Regions from separate parts of the Homo sapiens genome. Here region 1 is linked to region 2. The links are contacts of gene promoters, found by promoter capture Hi-C in human tissues and cell types (Jung and others, 2019). All regions are on one chromosome and are shown on one strand. The core of a region is centred on a gene start or on the middle of the fragment in contact, and the rest is flanking DNA. Distances in the headings are between cores, read along the strand shown. Region 1 overlaps DCBLD2 (discoidin, CUB and LCCL domain containing 2). Region 2 holds the start of CMSS1 (cms1 ribosomal small subunit homolog).

Region 1 (3,613 bases), core at 998-3,497, 1.0 Mb before region 2:
ATCCAAATGCCCAAAAATGAGAGGGAATAAATCATGGTATCCTCCTTACAAGAGAAAATAATCCAGCAATTGAAATGACGTTACATCATAATGGCAAAACATTCATATATATATATATGGGAAGGTAACAATGTGGTGTTAAGAAAGTCAATTGGAAATGTGTGTGTGACCAGGTCAGAAGCCAGCATAATGCTGGAACTGGGAGAGATTTAGGGATCATTTAATCCCCTAATTTCACTCCAGAGATAAGGAATTCTGGGCCCAGATATAGAAAATGATCTGCCTAAGGTCACTTGGGATATTAGTTTCTTCCTTTGTCGCTCAACCCCCTACTTGCCATGAAGATGATAATAGCAGCACCTGCTGATATTTACTGGGGGCTCAGAGCCGGACACTGCAATGAGTCTAACCTGCACCATCTTCTTTATTCCTTAAAACAACTGTATCCAAAAGAGAGAAAGAGGCTGAAGATACAGGAGGGGGAGAGGATAATCAGTAAGATTGGGTCCCTGAGAGGTAGATCGAGGGGAACCAGGGCACAGGTGATATAATCAGCCTTGGGCAACATAAGGAAGCCCCCTTTTCACTGCAGTGAACAGAGGATACAGATAGGTTTGTAGGCTCCACAAAAAGGGAGTTTCACTGGAAGGAAACTCCCTACTTTCTCTGTGAAGTTGGAGCGGTAACTGAGAGTGGGTGAAGATATCTGGGTGAAGGGCTTGAAAATAAGGGGAATATGTAAAATAGCTACAGTTGAGAACAGACAGAAGAGCTACTGCAGCCTTTCAGAAGGTCAGCCAGCTGGTGCCACGGGCCCCACTGAGGGAGGACCTGGAAACTACAGAGGCACAAATCTGACCATGACATAATCTTTTCCATGAAATCACTCTCAGCCTGGCTGTAAAAATGGAGAAGTCCATAAACAGAAATAATGACTTAGACTAGAAAGCACTCAGAATTCACAACGGTAAATGTGCTTTTTCCATAAGATTAGTGAGACAAGAGAAGATAATCAAGTTTAGATGGATGCTGTGTGATTTAATCAGAGGCTTTAAAACATCTTCTTAGGTTCAAAAAATAAATTTATATACTACCATCCCCCTAAAAAAGAGACAGGAGGTCTCTGAGAAGACCAACTCATTCTTTGTTATTCTTTTTGGGCATACAGGGATCCTAATTCTGGAAGGAAATTATTTAAGGACTCTTTTTAGCCTTGAGGGTCTGAGATGCAATCAGATTTTAAGATGAGCAACACTTTTCAGTGACTGATCTCCATCCAGGCATGTGGTCTGGGATTCTGCCTTAGTACATGCCTTCTGACAACTGGTAAGCAGTTAAAAGATGCTGAGATCTCCTGCCTCTGAGAACCCTTGATTCTCTCTAGCTGTACCTGCAGCATGAGAAAGTAATTCATCTTTGTGAAAATACTTCAGAAGATGGGAAAGAACCAACATGGGGAAAGTCAGAGAAAGTTATCTGAATCCAGGCAAACTTTCAAAAAATGAGAATGACTGAAGTTCTATGTGGCACAAATTACTTTGGATGAACGGCTTTCTCTCTCTGCACTTTCCTGAAAACAAGGAAGCTTTTTATGTGACAACTCTGATACTTAGTCTACTATGACACTGACACTTTTTTGAATTCAATTGAAATTTTGTTTTTCAACAACTAGTAAGACTACTATGTTTTATGTATTTTGAGACCTTATTTATCACTGATAACAAAACTTGAAAGTAAATTCTAATAAATTTCTATTTATGATCTTAAAAAATATAATTGCAAACACTTAAAAAGAGACCAAAGTTTTTTTTTATGAATATGTTAACTATGAGTATTTTTTAACAATTACTAGTTTCTACTAAAAGTTCTGTTTTTATTTTCCCCTTTTTGCCATCAAGTTCCCTATCCATCAAATTAATATATTATCAAGGGAAACAAGTTTGTTTCCTGCTATGATTTCAGTTATTTCTAGAAAATATTGTATTTCTAAGCCTGAGAGTCAACATGTTTAGCTGTAAGGAACAATAAATCACAAGAGGAGGCCTGCAACACAGTGGCCTTCTCTAAATATTTAAAGAGCAATTCTACATGGCAGCAGAGACTACAACTTAGATCAATGCAGTCTTTTCCTATGAAAGAAAATAAATTTTTTTTTTTGCTATACTTAAAAACTATAGTTGGAAGAAAATAAACTGAAGGTTTAAAAATGCCCGTGAAAACTTCAGTTAAGAACAAAACAATACTATGTACTAGGCGTTCATTTCCATGTTTGCATACCTTTGGTTACATTTGGAGTTACGGTAGTATTTCTGATATCAGGACTGGCAGTTGTTTGTTCTGTCTGTGCAGGAAATTCATTGCTACTGCGAGGTTGTAGTGGTTGCGTAAATTTTGGGGCACGACCTTTAAAAAAGTTTCAAAAGCTCTTTACTTTTTAATCTGTACCAACTTGATTAACATAAACTTATTTGATAATGCTTTTAATATATTTTTGGAAAGTTGCACCATAAATCCAAGGAATATCAAATTCTCACATTAAAAACAGGCATACCTTTGGCTATTTTTGGAGGGGCTGTAGTGTTTTTGAGGTCATTGCTGTTCCGAGGAGGTGGAGGTTGAGTAAGTTTTGGAGGACGACCTTGAAAAATGGTTTAGAAAAATTTAAACATTTTGTTTTTAAAAATCATAATTAAAAATAGTAATGCTAAATGTCTTCAATATTTCCTAAAGTATTTAATTCTGCAGAATAATTTTAACTCTCAGAGAGAAATATATTGGAAGGATAAATATTATACTCTGCAATAAAGGCACAAATATGCCAGGATTTCTCAGTTTTTAAATAATTAAATCATCTGAAAATAATCTTAGGAAGAAGAATAATGGGGTGGAAAGTGATGTTGAATGCTAAAGCTATAAAGGAGTCATCCACATTTTGATACAGTACTTATTCAATTCATTTAATAGTTATTTATGGAGGGCCAACGATGTGTCAGGCACTGTGGTAGCCTTTGGGCGTACAAAAGTAAACAGTATATTAAAATGTATAATATTGAGATAAATTATTCTTGCTTTAAATGTATTGTTACAATCTTTCATGCTTATGTTAAACAAATATTACAGTACATGACACCTGATTTAAAATTATTAGGATTGAGATTAAATTTGGAAAGTGATCTCATTTACATTATCTTATGAATGATGCTATTTCTTCTTCCACTTATAATTTTGGAAACCATTCTTATAACTAACTTTTTAATAGGGTAACCATTTTTTTTAACATCCCTTTAAGAAGATATTGTAATTAGAGTTTAACCAGAAAGACACTCACATTATTAATTACTCTCTCTGAGAACAGCAAAACCATTTTAAATTGGCAATCCAGTAAAAACATATCTTAAACGAACTGTCTCTTTACCTTTAGGAATAAACTGACATCCGAGCAGCTCCATTTTCATGGCAATTTTCTGCTGCCATTGGGTAGGATTCACTCTAATAAAACGTGCAATAATTGGTGGCAAAAAGTTATTACGCACATCCTGGTGATAATCTTTGTTTCCTTGAAATATCTTTAAAAAAACAACAAAAAATTGGTACTTCAAATCAATAGAGGTCA
Region 2 (3,426 bases), core at 576-3,075:
TGAGACGCCATATCTACAAAAAACAAAAACAACAACAAAATAACCAAGAATGGTGGCATGTGCCTGTAGTCCCAGCTACTCGGGAGGCTGAGGCGAGGTGGAATATAATGTAAGACCATTCATAGTTCATGGTACAAAACAGGTATCAATTCCCATTAATGCATAGACACTCCATAATTTAGTATTGCCAGACTTCTTTTTTTTTTTTTTTTTTTTTTTTTTGAGACCGAGTTTCGCTTTTGTCAACCAGGCTGGAGTGTAATGGCACCATCTCGGCTCACCGCAACCTCCACTTCCCGGGTTTAAGCAATTCGCCTACCTCAGACTCTCAAGTAGCTGGAATTACAGGCGCCTGCCACCATGCCCGGCTAATTTTTGTATTTTTAGTAGAGATGGGTTTCGCCATTTTGGCCAGGCTGGTCTGGAATTCTTGACCTCAGGTGATTCACCCACCTCGGCCTCCCAAAGCGTTGGGATTACAGGCTTGAGCCACCGCGCCCGGCCCATACTTCTTAATTTTGTGATTTATTGCCTGAAAAACGGTCTCGCTGTGGTGTTTTTTTTGTATTTCCCAGATTAATAATCAGACTGAATTCTTTTCATGTTTATTAGCCATAGCAACTCCTCTTCCACACTGGCATTTCTTATCTTTTTCAAAAATCTATTAATCACGAAAATCTCGTCATCTACATTTCTTCACAAAAGCCATATTACTTTTGATCTTTATAGATTATTTTACATTTGCCATATTTATACATAATATCTTCCCTTTTGGGGCATTTAGAGTGTGCGGACAAAGTCTAGGCAGTAATGCATTTATAAAACATCTATGAGTTGGGTGCACACGGGGTAATTTTCCACATATGGCTAATCCTAGCCTCATCAGATTAAGTTTCCCTGTCTTGTCATTTCCGAGGATGTATCCTATTAGAAGTCTAGCCCTTTATTCCTACAAATTGAATTTCCACTACTGTAGGCTAACATCTGAATGGACTCATCTTACTATTCCATGCATAGTACCAGGCACGTTGCGTGCTTTTACTACATTTTGTATAATTTTTACGTCTGTGTTTGATGTCCTGAAAAATACCGTCCACAATTACTTCACAGCTAGCCCCAGCACTTGGCGCCCAGCGGGTTTTCCTAGTCCCTCCCTGCCAAATCACGTTGGGACTGAGACAAGAGGCACTGCGGGTCTCTTACCTATAGTTACGAAGCAATGGACTCCCTTATTACTTCGTTTCCCAAATAGGGGGTGGGACACACAACCGAGGGAGTATGAGGAAAACAACTTGCGGGTCTTCGAGCCACTTGCGTCTTTCTGTGGGCGAGCCTTTCCAGGCCAATTACATTTTCTTTACTCATATTGCATAAATAGCAGAACTACATTTACCACAAAGGCCCGACATTCATGGTCATGGATCCTTGCGCATGTTTTCTAAGAGCAAACTGTACAAACACATAAACTCTGAAACACTGACGCACAAGCGAAAACACACGCACATGTTTGGGTCTTCTCCCGCTGCGCAAGTTCTTTGAAACTGAGCGGAGAAAAATCGTCTTCACATGGTGTCTCACACTTTCGACACAATCTTATCGGGAAACGTAACACGTAAACAAAATTTTTTAAAATGCATTATCAAAAACGATGACAATCCCTTTCGTCTTATGTTCCTTTTTGTCTTTAAGCTTTGGGGGGATTTATGTTGCGTTTCCAAACTGCTTCTGCCTGTCGGCGCCTGTGTGGAAACTGCGACGAGTCTGGGAGCGGCTGCCGGAGAGGCGGGGCAGAGGTGTGACGTCATCGCCGCGGGGCGGAGGCGACAGTGTCTAGCGGGAGCTCCGCGTGTAGCTACGCCGGCCGCCTGGCTTTGAGACAACGTGATTCTCCGCAGCTGGTCGCCTACCCGTGATGTTCTGCCCACGTCGAGACCTGAGCTGAAATGGCAGACGATCTCGGAGACGAGTGGTGGGAGAACCAGCCGACTGGAGCAGGCAGCAGCCCAGGTACCCACTCTGTGCCCGCGCTCCTACGGGGCCTCTCCCGGAGCCCTTCCGTGCGCCTCAGCCCTGGTCGCTTCTGGCGATCGCGGTGTTTGCCCAGCAGGGGTGTGCACCGCCTTGGGAGCGCGCAAGCATCTCGGGGAAAATGGTGCAAGAGATTCTTTAACACGTGAAACAGACAGCTGTGACATTAACTCAGATCTGTCTGCCAGCCAGGAAGGATCCTTTCCACAAGCTTTCTCTTTTCCTTATTTCTTGAGAATGGATAAGACAGTTTTTGTGAAGAGAGGCAACTTTGTATGATGGTTAAGGGTGACCCATGAACTGCTTTCAATTCAGACTGAGGTCAGAAGCAGGGGTTGCTGCTTCAGACTCCCTCCATTCAAATCACGACTCCAGTATTCTGATACTGTTTAGCCTCCTTTTCCTCATCTGTAAAATAATGATAACAATAATGTCCATTTCGTAAAGTTGTGAAGATTAAGTGAAGTTAGTACAGTAATGCACTTTAGCATAGTGCTTGACATATAATGTGTGGTAAATATAAGTTACTGTATTTCTTGTGGTCATCATCATTATCATGGAATTTGGAATAGTAGAACTGGAAGGAGGCTTAAATAGAGATCATCCTTTGAACTCACTTATTTTACAGATGAGAAACATAACCTAAAGATGTCAAGTAACTTGACAAGTTCACAAAGCTAGCTCCTTTCAGAAACAATACTAGAATTCAGTTAACACAATTTGAATAGTTTCTACTATGCTCTGCTGTGTTTACCAACTCCTGATGCAGTGGGCATTTCATCCCCAAGTAGAGTAGCGTTAAGTGACCCCCCATGTCAGGCTAGCCTTGAACTTTTTAAGTTCCATCACACCTACCATGCAATTATTGGTTGGTTGGTTTTTATCACTCCTCAAGGTCTGCCTCTTTTCTCTACAAGAGAAGACAGGGCCAAAGTCAGATTCATACTTCTGTCATCCACAGGGCCCTGCACATGTTAGACACTTGATACCTATTTGCTGCAAACAATCTTGAAATACTAGTTGTGAAATATCCATTAAAAATAACCAACTTCATTTGTTGCATTGTTTCCGGAAGGTCAAGCCTTCAGGTACAAACTAAGCAGATGTCATTTTTAGAAAGGTAGCCAATACAACATTTCCTTGATTAAACTTCCTGACTCTTTTGCAGCCCTGTGGTGTTCCACATTTACTTTAATAACTACCCCTCCCAACTCAGGTGTTAAAAAGCTCTATTTTATGATATGATTGAAGATGAACAGAGGCCATTTAAGAAATAGTTGAATTCTGTTTGAGTGGTGAAGGGGATCCCAATTCTTGGTTCTAGTCCTCACTAGCTGTGTGACTTTCAAGTTATTCATCCGTTGGAAGAAAGGCAGTCAACATGTATTGAGTATCTAT

Evidence for each region. Contacts are between HindIII fragments. The study calls those that stand out against the background at their distance.
Region 1: a contact is called between a fragment that was not itself captured here and the fragment with the promoter of CMSS1 in region 2, in 1 of the 25 tissues and cell types used here (heart left ventricle).

The regions. Positions count from the first base shown.
Region 1 is chr3:98,808,917-98,812,529 of GRCh38, forward strand. DCBLD2 (discoidin, CUB and LCCL domain containing 2) reads right to left here. Exons shown (of 16, transcript NM_080927.4): 10 at 3,416-3,566; 11 at 2,552-2,638; 12 at 2,278-2,403. Among named protein-coding and RNA genes, the nearest start is that of ST3GAL6, 47 kb to the left of the region's middle. The HindIII fragment of the contact is 5,631 bases long and covers 1-3,613 here.
Region 2 is chr3:99,816,037-99,819,462 of GRCh38, forward strand. It overlaps CMSS1 (cms1 ribosomal small subunit homolog), which reads left to right and starts at 1,826. Exons shown (of 10, transcript NM_032359.4): 1 at 1,826-2,007. The coding sequence starts at 1,944. HP09053 (a long non-coding RNA gene) reads right to left here. Exons shown (of 3, transcript NR_110821.1): 2 at 2,884-2,938; 3 at 596-2,436. LOC105374010 (a long non-coding RNA gene) reads left to right here and starts at 1,826. Exons shown (of 5, transcript NR_189163.1): 1 at 1,826-2,007. RefSeq lists a silencer at 1,507-2,261 and enhancers at 1,677-2,551, 1,783-2,092. The HindIII fragment of the contact is 4,697 bases long and covers 1-3,354 here.